Regions from separate parts of the Homo sapiens genome. Here region 2 is linked to region 1. Evidence: promoter capture Hi-C in 16 types of primary human blood cells and fetal thymus (Javierre and others, 2016). All regions are on one chromosome and are shown on one strand. Each heading gives the region's core, a stretch centred on a gene start or on the middle of the fragment in contact. The rest is flanking DNA. Distances are from core to core; before and after follow the strand shown.

Region 1 (6,758 bases), core at 3,434-5,933:
TTTGTCTCAGATGAGACTTTAGACTGTGGATTTTTGAGTTAATGTTGAAATGAGTTAAGATTGGGAGACTATTGAGAAGGGATAATTATATTTTGCAATGTGAGCAGGACATGAAATTTGAGAGGGGTTGGGGTGGAATTATATGATTTGGATTTGTGTCCCCACCCAAATCTCATGTTGAATTGGAGGAGGGGCCTGGTGAGAAGTGATTAAATCATGGATCATGGGGGTGGATTTCCCCCTTGCTGTTCTCATGATAATAAGTGAGTTCTCACAAGATCTGATGGTTTAAAAGTGTATGGCACTTCCCCCTGCATTCTCTCTTTCTCCTGCCACTATATGAAGAAAGCACTTGGTTCCCCTTCACCTTCTGCTATGATTGTAAGTTTCCTGAGGCTCCCTAGTCATCCTTCCTGTTAAGCCTGAGGAACTGTCAGTCAATTAAATCTCTTTTCTTCATAAATTACCCAGTTTCAGGTAGCTCTTTATAGCAGTGTGAAAACTGACTAATGCAAGTTGAAAGAAAAAGAAGAGCCAGATAAAAGTGAGTGAGGGAAACAGAGCCAGGAAATCTTAGAAGTCCAGCCACCATATATATTTTTTGACACTACTCAGAAACAACAAACGGGAAAGCTTTGTGAAGTTTGAAAAACTGTCTGGACCAAATCTCCTTTTAAAAGTTCAAGAAAACAAAATTCATGTAAAAATGATCAACAAAAAAAATACTAAGGTCAACTCTCATATAGCTACTACAACAAAGTGAATAAAGATCATAATAACCTCCAGAAAGATATTCTCAAAAAAATTAAAGCTATAATGTCCTAGAAAAGCTAATACACACTGAGTGACATGAAACATGAAAGAACAACATACATCAGAATTAGAGAAACTCAGAAATTAGAACAGAACTCACAGAAGAATTAAACGTTTTATTTTTTATTTTTTTTTGGAATTAAACATTTTAAAAAGCATTTGAGAAATAAAGATTGACCTATAAGGAACACAAGAACACATAAATATAACTAATAAAAACTTAAAAGAAAATAAGGTAAAAAGGAGGGAAATTTATAAACTTAAAAACAAATGAAGAAAGAAATTAAAAAGATTTAAGGGAAAGTGACAAATGTTGAAGATAGACAAAAAAGGTTCAATATGCAGATAATAGAAGTCTCCAGAGAAGCAGTCTAAAGCAATCCAAAACAGAACAAATATTTAAGACTTTAATTGAAGAAAATTTTCCTGAAATTAACAAAATATATGTATTTGAAACCACATTTTGAAAGAAATACACACTGTTTACTTTCAAACTAGAATGACCAACAAACATTCTAATAAAATTACTGGATTTGAAAGAAAAAGATAAAGTTATTTGGGCATCTAGGCAAAGTGAGAAGGTGCCGTCTACAAACCAGAAAGAGGGCTCTCAACAGATACTGAATCTGTTGGAGCCTTGATCTTGGACTTCCCAGCCCCCAGAACTATAAGAAATAATGTTTCTTGTTTATAAGCCACTTATTTTGTGTTTTTTTTTTTTGTTGTTGTTGTTATAGCAACCCAGCTGGACCAAGACACCAAGTAGTTTGAATCCAACAAAATTGACCTTCAAGTAAAATGGCATGAACAAACTGTAAGCAACATGCAAGAACTCAGAGCATATTCTTTCCATGAGCCCTTCCTAAGGAATCTAGTAGAGGACAAGCTTTCAGACAACCAAAATGACTAAAGATACATAAACATAAGGAACTAATGGTAAGCATTAAATATATATTTGAACTTTAATTAGGATTAGAATTGTAGAACTGTAAAATTAAGACTAAATTAGGGTTAAATAGGAAGATTATGGTATAGATGGCTATAGAAGCTGATAATTTAGATAGAGTATAACTATAAAAGATGGATAGCATATGCAAAAAAAACTGTTTTCAAGAATCAAAACTGATGATGGTAGTATTAATATTGTTATTCTGAGATTATTATTATATGTTTAATGCAAACTAAAGCAAATTAGTAAATTGGGATATTCTAATTTCATCCTCCCTTTTGTCCTTGAGAACCAGAATTCTCTACATGAAAGAAAAGAGGTCCTAATGTAATATATGTTAAGTAAAAACTACAGTCCTGAAATTAAATTGGAAATAATATAAACTGATGAAAATATTATGAAGAATAATATTTCTCTAGAATATAAAAAAATGAAGTATTCTTTAGTAGCTCTGTCTATTGAAAAGGCCTAGAAACAGTTACCAACCTAGTAACAATGAATACTCCTAGTGCTCATATTGTTATCTTAAAATTTCAACAAAAGAAACTAGAGCTTCTGGCCAGGCGGGGTGGCTCATGCCTGTAATCCCAGCACTTTGGGAGGCCGAGGTGGGCAGATCACGAGGTCAAGAGATTGAGACTATCCTGGCCAACATGATGAAACCCCGTCTCTACTAAAAATACAAAAATTAGCTGGGTGTGGTGGCACGTGCCTATAATCCCACCTATTCAGGAGGCTGAGGCAGGAGAATCCCTTGAACCAGGGATGTGGAGGTTGCAGTGAGCCGAGATCGTGCCACTGCACTCTAGCCTGGTGACAGAGTGAGACTCCATCTGAAAGAAAAGAAAGAAAGAAAGAAGGAAAGAAGGAAAGAAGGAAAGAAAGAAAGAAAAAAAGAAAGAAAAAGAGAGAGAGAAGGAAGGAAGGAAAGAAAAAACAAAAAAACTAGAGCTTCTTGGAGAAATGGCTGATTCCAGGTTTGAGGCAGCAAATGTACAGATGTGCCTGGAACATCTTGTCATATCAGATAGCAAGGAAGCTATCAAAGACTTCTAGGGTCTTTGAAGCTCTTTGCACACTAGTGAGAGAGAGAGAGAGAGAAAAAAAAAAAGACTACTAGAATCTTATCAAAAGGAGCCAGGAGCCATATTGAAGAAGCTCCTACTGGCCAAAGATGGGACAATTTGAGCTCTAATATCGTAGATGGAAACCTATCAAATATATTTAAATTCATGAATTTATAATGATATTAAAGAAATCTAAGAATGACAGAGAATCAATTCCTTAACTTGAAAACTGGGTAATTTTTTTAAAAAAAAGCAGGTATTCATCGTGCCTTTCCTATCTCAGGGTAATCAAATAGTAGATGAGAGGAAGCATCTCCTTATCCACTTATGAACTAATAAATGAAAACAAAATTATTAGAATACCATGATTTTGCAAACTTCAATTAATTAATGAATCTAGGAATTGAGCATCGACGGCTGTTAACCTCAAAAAAGAGCAAACACCAGACATCATGATCATGTACCTCTTGAAGAAAAGAACACACAACCATCTATAATCTTACAAAAGACATCAAACTTCAGTCTGAGGAAGACCCTGGATCAGCTGCCAACTTGCTGTCAATACAGAGGACAGAGAAACATGCTGAATTGCCTCATGAATGTGCAACCCCCAGACTCTGGAAAACCTCACAGATCAAGGGCTTAAGTTATTTAACAAATAATTGTAAGGAAAAGACTGAAAAGGCAAATCAAATTAAAAAAAAAAAGAGTGGGGGGAGGGGTAAGGTGCACCCTTGGAAGATACCAAGAAAAACAAAAGCAGCAGAAGTGACTACATGAAAGTCAGGTTAGTGGTTACTTTTGGGAGGAGGGAGAAAGGGGGTTGTCATTGAGGTAGGGCACATGGAGAGGCTCCTGGGGTGGCTGGCAGAGTTCTATTTCTTGATCCAGGTGGTGATTACAAGGATGTTCCCTTTATAATAATTCACTAGTCTATATATCTATATATTTGTTTTTTGTGGTTTTCTGTATTTATGTTTTATTTTACAATTAAAAAATTTTTAAAAACACTCCTTAACCTGCAGTAAACAGTTTTTTTAAAAAAAACAAAAGAAGGTCCAAGTGAAGAGATCAGAAGCTATAAAATATTTCATATTGGGTGCAAACTAAATATAAAGCAAGCCAAAACCAGAAACACCTCCTCCCCCTCCCCTCCCCCCCCTCCCCTTTCCCCTTTTTTAATTTAAAGAACTTTGTAGGTATCTTCCAAACCAATGAGAGATTCTTAACACACACAAAGGGAGGATGTCAGAGGAACCATGGGGCTGAGTTGCACCACTGGAGGATGTCTGAAAAAAACTACATAGACAACCTTCCAGCACTAAAACTTTAGCCCCATGGTTCCGCTGACATCTTCATTTTACAGATTAGAAAACTGAGGCCCAGAGGCAGCCAGTGTCTCATGCACGCTCACGAAGCTAGCATCAGACCCCGACCTAAGGCCTAGGTCTCCCAGTGTAGGACTAAGACACGCACCAAGACAGTACCAGCCCGCTGACCGCCGCCTGCGAGGAGTTAACTGGGGCGGTGCAGGATAAGTGCGAGGGGGGCCCGGGTCTGGCGCTAGGTTTGGCTGCGGATTCTCCGCTCCGGACTCCGAGGCAGAAGGCGGGTGGGCGTGGCGGGAAGGGCAGCAGGTCCACTCCCCGAGCGCTATGCAAATGTCATGCAAATCAGTGCATGGGGGCTGGAGCGGGTGGTTTGAGTCCTGACCCCGTAGCGCCGCGCTCTCACTCGCTCTCCTCAGCGCGCGTCCGCTCTCCGCTCTCCCACTTGCTCTCTCTCTCGCCGGTTCGCTCACCCCCGCCCCGCCCCGCCCCGCCCCGCCCTGCCCAGTCCCGGACGCGCCTCGCGGGCTCCCCGCGCCGCCCGGTCGGCAGCAGGGCGCTGAGCGAGCTCGGAGCCCGCGCTGTGCGCCTGCGGCCGGGGCGCCCCGCCGAGCGCCGGTGCCCCGGCTCCCGGGCCGCCTTCGCCGCGCGGGTGAGTGAGCCCGCCCCATGCTTTTGTCCAGGCGCGGGCCCTGGAAGTCAAGGCTCCGAGGGTGGGAGTTCTGGGTGGGGGCTGGGACCCCCACCGTCTGTGCCTCCCGACTCCCCTAATGGAGAGGGGCCCCGGGGTGCGGCGAGGAGTCAGGGGCGTAAGGAGACGACCCCAGTGACGCCAGGCTGCACGAGTTTTCTTTTGGGGAGATGAAGTGCTTGGGGACACTGATGCGATTGCCTTTCTAGGAATCATCCGAAGGGGGTGCCTTTGATTTGAGGGGCGGAGGAGAAGCGGACCCTTCTCCCAGCTCCCAGACCCTCGCTAGAGGACTCGGTGACGGCCTCTGGGAAGGGGGTGCCACGTGAAGGTCCTTCCAGCCCAAATGTGATTCCGGGAAGGTAGGGCGGGGAAGGCGGCCCGCGAGTGCCAGACCTGGCCATCCCAGGCGAAGCTGGGGCGCGGGCTTTGCAGACTTGTTCCTACTCCATACTCCTCATTTAAGCTCCTTACCTCGCTCTGCCTCCTTCGCGTTAACTGGGGTCCCATTGTTGAGGGACCTTGTTCGCCGATGATTGCAGTTGGAAAGTTTTGGATAAACTTCTCAGGAGATGTGAGTTGTCAATGGTTGAGGTAGACCCCTCCCTGGAACTTATGGAACTAAAACCCTTCAAGACCCAAAGGACTGAATTTCTAGGAGTGGCATTGCAGATGTGAAGATGGGCTGATGGGGAAATGGTTTCAAGGATATATATTTTTTTTAGATTGGGGTGTGTGTGTTGGGGTGCGGGGCACTTTCTATTTCGTAGCCAGAAGGAGAAGACCCAGCTCTACTAGAGTCTAGAGGGAGTAAAATTAGCTGTTGTGATTCAGGGAGCTGGGTGGGTGTAGGGAAACACCTGGGCAGTGGGCATGATGCCAGACCTCAGGCCGTTGGTTTTTACCATCCCTCCTCTCCCCAAGTGCAAAGACCAGAGTATATGCAATGACCCGCCCACCCCACAGCCTTTGAGAGCCTGCCCTGGAGCTGCATCCCCCTTCCAAGAGAGGCTGTGTTCTTCTCCACCTGAATGGAATACTTTTTGTCAAAATGCACTTATCAATAAATTATTTCCAGATGGTGGGCTTAGGAGGACCATTTGGGGAACCCCGCCCACACTTCAAAGAATCAGGAATCAACAATGCAAGTCTCTGGGAGAAGTGTAGGTGCATCTGGTGACTTTACTAGGTTCCTACAAGGCATTTAGGGTTCTAATAGAACTGTTTTCTTTTCTCTTAAATTCTTGACCTCCTTCTCTCTTCCGTGATTCTCTTAGTCTCTTCCCCGCCTGCACACTGTGGGACTGTGGAGGATGATGCTGCTGGCACCACAGTGCTCTAGGGCAGCATGGAATTTTCCTTCCTGCCCAGAGTGAGGTTACCCCTTTTTCTCCCACTCTCAGTGGGCCAGGAGCCTTGGGTCTGGGAGGAACCTGAGCAGTTGGTCCTGGGTCCGGAGTGGTTGGACTCTGGATGCTGGATTGGGTAGCGGGTACTCTGGGGACATGCACAAGAGCTTTTTTTGCCAAGATGTGCAGGTCTGTCTCATTGTTCACTGATGATACAAAGGATGCTGGACCTCATTTGCAGCTAAGCATGAGCTTGGAGAACCACCCCACAGTGGGGAAGCATTTATGCTGGTTTATCTCCCATGTTCAGTTTCTTTTGTGTAATAACTGGCTAGCTGAGGAGGAGGGTAGCTGCAGCATTGTAGATGTTTCCTTGTCTTATTTTTATTTTTATTTTTTATTTTGAGACAGGGTCTGGCTCTGTTGCCCAGGCTGGAGTACAGTGGCGTGATCTCAGCTCACTGCAACCTTGACCTACCAGGCTCAAGGAATCCTCCACCTCAGCCTCCTGAGTAGCAGGGACTACAGGTGTGTGCCACCACACCTGGCTAGTTTTTTGGA
Region 2 (6,319 bases), core at 2,995-5,494, 140 kb after region 1:
ATAAAAAGCGGATATTTGTTCTGATAGAGTGGAGAACCACTATTTTAAGTAATCCTCAAAAAACACTTTGAAGTTGGCTACAAGTAGGGTGACTGCTCCCCACTTTTCCTGGAACAGTCCTAGCTTTCTCCTGCTATCCTGGCATGATTATTAATTGCATCTCTCTCAGTGTTGAGAGTCTCTGTTTGGATGATAAATTATATCACCGCACATTTTTAGAAGCATTTCGGCTCCTTTCAATTTTGATCACATTATTCACTTTTTGAGCAGTATGTTCTGACCCGATTCAGTCTTTCTGTATCACCTGACAAACAGAGCTAGGTCTACCTTATCCCTTCCACCACTGAACTTTCCAATCCTAAGACCTGCCAGCATTCTCTTTTACTTGTCTTTGAAAAATCTAAGATCAAATACCGTCAGTGTCTTGGCCTCTCCTTTTTCTCAGCAACTTGCTTCTGTCCTCACCAGTTCTCTTAACTCATTCTTCTATTTTTTGCATTTCTACTTTAATCCCCTTTCCACTTATTTTTCTACATAACCTTACTGTTCTGCCAGATTTTCATACTTTTACAAAATTAATTTTGCCTTATCTAACAATTTGCAACTTCAAATTTTTCCTATAAATAGACCCTGTTAGTAATTTTAGCCTAAATTCTTTTTGTCTTGATGTGAACTCTCTGTTAACTCATATTAAAATAAGCATCCATCAATTCCATTTTTAGCTGACTGCTTTATGTGATATGTTTTCATCATACCCTCTTACCCTGACATAGAAGTATCTCTCCCCAGCATTCTTTTGCTATTCTTTGGGAAAGTGCCATGTTTTTGCTTTTATTTATTTTTTAAGGAAGAAAGGAATTTAAGCCTTTTGGATTAAGATATTTAGCTCCCAAGACTTTTTAAAATGCTCAGTCTAATTTTTTTTATTGTGGTAAAATATACATACCTAACATAAAATTTACCATTTTAACCATTTTAAAGTGTACAATTGTCATTAAGTACATTCACAGTGTTGTGCAGCCATCACTGCTATCTCATTCCAGGACTTGTTTATTACCCCAAATGGAAACCCCATACCTATTGAGCATTAATTCCCCATCCCCTCCTCCCCCAGCTCCTGGCAACTACTAACCACCATCTTTCTCTATGGATTTGCCTCTCCTGGACATTTCATATGAACGGAATCCTATCATACATGGCCTTTTGGGTCTGAGCTCCTTCACTTAATGCACTTTTTCAATGTCCATCCATGTTGTACCACGTGTTAGTACTTCATTCCTTTTACAGCTGAATAATACTTCATTGTATGGATGCACCACATTTTCTTTATCCATTCATCAGTTAATCAGTCTAATTTTTATAAAATCTTTATTCCCAGATGAAATGAGTGATACAGTAGTGTGGGTAGTACAATGGATGGTACACGGATATTTTGTGATGAAATGTTAGAGACTGGATAATGCTGTTGTATGGAGCGTGTTTAGAAGGCCCTATCCATCCTCTATTTGGATGCCAGATTTTACTTTCTTCCTCCCTGCCCCTTTTTTTGCAACTAGATTATGTTTTTCATGTTTTATTTCTTCTTTACCATTGTATTTATAGGTTTTAGAAAATACAGCTGAATAAAATTACTCAGAGTACCACAACCCCCAAAATAATCAGTATTAATAACATGATACCTTTTCTTGTCATTTTCCTGTCTTTGGGTATTTTAGTTTTACCTAATTATGATCACATTAAATAGGTAATTTTGTATGCTGCACAAAATGTATTTAACAAATATTTAAATACCTACAATGTGCTGGGATTTGTTCCGGATACATCTGATGAGTGAATAAGAAGTTCTAGTGGGGATATGGGTTGGGTCTTTAGCATATAGATGATATTTAAAGCTATGGGACTAAGACCTCCTGGGAGAAATTAGATGGAGCTGGGGAGAGGCCCAGGACTCAGCCCTAGGGTGCCCCAGCATGCAAAGGTTGAGCAGAGAAGGAGGTTGAGAGAAGATGAATAACCTGGTAAAAGCAGGAAAGTCTAGAAGAGAAAGTGCTTTGAAGGGGAGTGGGACCTTGTGTCAGATACTACTGAGCATCTGAGTGAGATGGAGACAGAGTGTCAACCATTGGGTTTGACAAGATTGTGGCTGGGATGGAGCCCAGTGGAGCGGAGAGGATCATAGCCCATTTGGAGTGTGCTGAGGAACGAATGAGATAATATCCTAACATGTACCTGCACGTTTCAGATATTCTTAAACATAATTTAATGGCAGAATAAGATGTCTAATTGTACATTTTACCTGACTACTTATTTTCTTCCTACTGAGTGACATTTATGTTGCTTCTAACTTTCACTATTACAAATAAGATAAAAGTGAATAGCTGTGTAAACTTTCTCTTCTAACTTTAGCGTCGTTTCCTTTGAATGGAGTCACAGAAACGGAGGTGCTGTCCCAAGAGCAGAGCATCTTTAAAGCTTATGATTTTTCCTCACTCAAGTATTTCCAGGAGGACTGGACAGTTGGCTCTGCCTCCAGCAGCATCTGAGGGCCCAGCATCTTGACTGTCAGTTGGGTCCTTTCAAAACAAGTCTCTCCTTTTATCAATTTAGAAGTTCTTTTACTTTTGAATAGAGAATGGAATGACAAAAACCAAAACACTTTCAGGAATGAAAACTAGACACAGCTCACTAAGTAATGTTAAACAGAAATGCCTGTATCGTAATCACCAATTATATGGAGCCACAGCTTAAATGTGATGCCAGTGTTTGTTATTAATCCCTTTTCACTAAAGTTCTGGTGGAATCTTAAACCGGGTGTGGCTGATGAAAATAGCCATGATTTTTCTCCTCCACACCTATGTTCTTACACAGTCATATAAATGTGATCAGAGTCAAAGTTAAGGAAGTTTACTCTTTTGCAGTAAACTCCCTGCAAATTCCCCACAGCAACTGTCTGCTGATATCAGAGGATGACTCTACCCTCCCTGGGATAGGGTTTTATAAACATCCCCAGCTTGCGGCAAAAGAAGAACAACTTTCAGGGTGATCATCATCTCAAAAAAGACCTCTTCCTCCCACCCCACCCCTCAAAATAAAACTCCCACTACTTTAGAGTTATTTCATGGTGACATTGTGAATTGTCCCTCCCAGCTGCAGGAGCTGGATGAAAGGAGCTAACCCCAGCTGCCTTGCTGGCTTTGCTATTTAATGGCCTCCTGCCTAGCACGGCAACAGCTCACCCAGGATCAGCAGCGCCCAGTAGGATAGCGCCTACTATGGCCTCATCATCTCACCTAGGACCGACTGGCAGTGCCCAGCATAGCAGCGCCTTGCCCAGGACTGGCAGTGTCTAGCATAGCAGCGCCTTGCCCAGGACTGGCAGTGTCCAGCATAGCAGCGCCTTGCCCAGGACTGGCAGTGTCCAGCATAGCAGCACCTTGCCCAGGACTGGCAGTGTTCAGTGTGGCAGCACTGCAGATTCTGCAGGAGCTGCTGGCTCCGCTGTAGCTCATCTGCAGTGACCTGTCCTGCTCTCTTTCAGCTTGCTGCTACTTGCCAGGCCTTAAGTGGAAGAATGGAGTGTTGATTGTGTCAGTCAAGAGTAGGTGTGGTAAGAGATAGGCATGGGCCTTTCCCTCCCTCCCTTTAACTGAGAAAATGTTCTGGAGAGGTCCTGAATCACCCCCAAATAATCCCCAAAATGGAAGGTAGAGCGTACTACCCTAACAACTCAGCAGGGTGGTTGAGAGTTTTAGAATCTGGCAGACCTGGGTGAATTTCTGCACTGTTACTGACTTTGTGACCTTGTATGGATGACTTAACTTCTCTGAATCTTATTTCTCTCATCTGTTTAAAAAATAGGATAATGTAGTATCAGCTTCATAAAATTATTGCAAGAAATTCACATGATAATGTATGTAAACACCTACCATAGTATCCATAGTGACACAGCCCATGCTCAGTCAAGATTAATGATCACCATCACTATCCCACCCACCCCTGCTGTTGAATCTTTTTACTTTCATTGCTCCAAGTTGGTGGCTCAGACCTGACTCATCAACTCTTTTTCTTGCAGGAAGTTTTGCGAAGCAGCTTGGTCAGCCTGTTGTTTCCAAAACCTTAGGGTAAGTCCTGGATGTTCAAGACAGAGTAAGGGTTGGATTGCTTTCCTGCTGACTTGAGCAGGATAGGTCTGGGGAGTAAGTCTTGGCTCTCCTAGGTTATAATAACCAAAGGGCGGGAGCCTAGTACAATGAGATGTGTCATTTACACAGCACCTCCTGACCTGGCTGCCTCTGTGATTGGCTCCTTTGACTGGCCCAGCTGCTAAATGTAAGGAAGTGGGAGAGGTGGCCAGAGTCTGCAGTGGACTCTAACAATCAAGGCAATAGTCAGAAGATTGAAATAAGCAAGCCTAGAAGAGGCGGGTAACAGTAGCTGCTGTAACAGACAAGCCTCAAATCACAGTGGCTCAACCCAGGGAAAGTTTGTTTCTTACTCAGGGAAAGTTCAGTTCAGATATCCTGGAACATGGGGAGAGCCTTCCACATTATCTTCCAGGAGCCCAGGCTTCTTCCATTTTATAGTTTCATCTCCTAGGCCCTTGAGCCCCCACTGGGCCTTCTGCATCTCACCAGCAGAGTGGACGAGAGACTGCAGAGCCTCACAGGAGGTTCTTATGAGTCGGCCCTGGAAGTGGCATACAGCTCTTCTGCTCATGGTCTCCTGGCTAAAACCCAGGCTTTCAGCCAGGGCTCAGTGGAATTCAGGCATGCCTAACTGCAAGGAAGGCTAGTAAATGAAGTCTAGCTGCATGCCCAAGAGGTAGAGGAAATAGGTTTTGGTGCCACACATTTTTCTAGAGAGAGCATGAGAAAGTTTCTGAGGCATAAAATTGGGAAGGCTACACTTTGATGGCTTCTGACCTTAACTTAGTGCCTTTGAGTGAGGTGGAGAGAGGATGGTTGAATTGCTGCCTTGTCTGGGACTGGATTCTCTGCCAATTTCCTTACAGGGATAGATTTTCAGCTCCAGCAGTGGAGACCCGTCCTAGCATCTGGGGGGAGTGCCCACCAAAGTTTGCTACCAAGCTGGGCCGAGTTGTGGTCAAAGAAGGACAGATGGGACGATTCTCCTGCAAGATCACTGGCCGGCCCCAACCGCAGGTCACCTGGCTCAAGGTGAGGTTTCTGTCTGCCCTGACCCTGATCCAGCCTGTATTAGTCTGTTCTCATGCTGCTAATAGACATACCCGAGACTGGGTAATTTATGAAGGAAAGAGGTTTAATGGACTCACCGTTCCACATGGCTGGGGAGGCCTCACAATCATGACAGAAGGTGAATGAGGAGCCAAGTCATGCCTTATATGGCGGCAGGCAAGAGAGCATGTGCAGGGGAACTCCTCTTTATAAAACCATCAGATCACATGAGACTTATTCACTGTCATGAGAATAGCATGAGAAAACCCACCCTATGATTCAGTTACCTCCCACTGGGTCCCTCCCACAACACGTGGGAATTATGGGAGCTACATTTCAAGATGAGATTTGGGTGGGGACACAGCCAAACCATATCATAGCCCTAGGGACCCTGAAAATTCAGGGTTAGACCCTTCAACTAGTAGGAGTCTTTCCATTCTGTTCCTCCTGTTTCAGGCGGTTCTCAGGGGTTCTCTGTATGTTTGTTAGGGATGCATGTTCCTGTCCCTATTACAACTCTCCCTCTGTTACTCAGACCACAGTGTTCTGACAATTCTCACACTCACAAAATAGCAGAAAACTTCTGAGTCAAGACAAGCCTGACAATCTCAAGAGTGGACTGTGAAGTTAGGGTTCTAGGTGTTAAGCCACAGCTCCCTGGTTTATAAAGCCTGTGAAGCTGGATAAGTCATTTGACTTCTTGGAATCCTGGTTTCCTTATCGGTGAGATAGAAATAATACCACCTACCTCAAAATATTGTCAGGAGCCTCCATGTAGAAGGGATTTATAAATCATTCAGGGCTGGGGGAAGTGAAGCTTAAGGGGGAGAGGTGGGCGGGCAGGGAGGCAGTGGCATGGGGTTGGGGATGGCTGTTAAACAGGGCAGTGAGGATCCTAGGGGAACAGGTAGAGTCATGGCCAGGGGAATAGGTTTTTCAGAGTTGGAATGCCTGGGTAAAAGTGGGTATTGACACCTTTTACCTGCTTCCTAATTCTCTTGAACTCCCCTAGGAAAAGAATAAAAGGAATGGGGAGGTAAGGAAAAACTGAAGTGAGGAATATGGGATTTCCTACCTCAAACTCAGGCTCCTTTGAAACAGTTTTCAGGCAACTGCTCTAAGCA

What was found. The method cuts DNA at HindIII sites, captures the fragments that hold promoters and counts their contacts. A CHiCAGO score of 5 or more calls a contact.
Region 2: a fragment that was not itself captured here is called in contact with the fragment with the promoter of MYLK in region 1 in 1 of 17 cell types (endothelial precursors); the score reaches 7.6 in endothelial precursors.

The regions. Positions count from the first base shown.
Region 1 is chr3:123,882,257-123,889,014 of GRCh38, reverse strand. MYLK (myosin light chain kinase) reads left to right here and starts at 4,683. Exons shown (of 34, transcript NM_053025.4): 1 at 4,683-4,809. It also overlaps a transcript of CCDC14 not described here. RefSeq lists a silencer at 4,644-4,803. The HindIII fragment of the contact is 5,860 bases long and covers 1,702-6,758 here.
Region 2 is chr3:123,737,755-123,744,073 of GRCh38, reverse strand. It overlaps MYLK (myosin light chain kinase), which reads left to right. Exons shown (of 34, transcript NM_053025.4): 6 at 4,073-4,121; 7 at 5,012-5,177. Among named protein-coding and RNA genes, the nearest start is that of MYLK-AS2, 51 kb to the right of the region's middle. The HindIII fragment of the contact is 3,540 bases long and covers 2,475-6,014 here.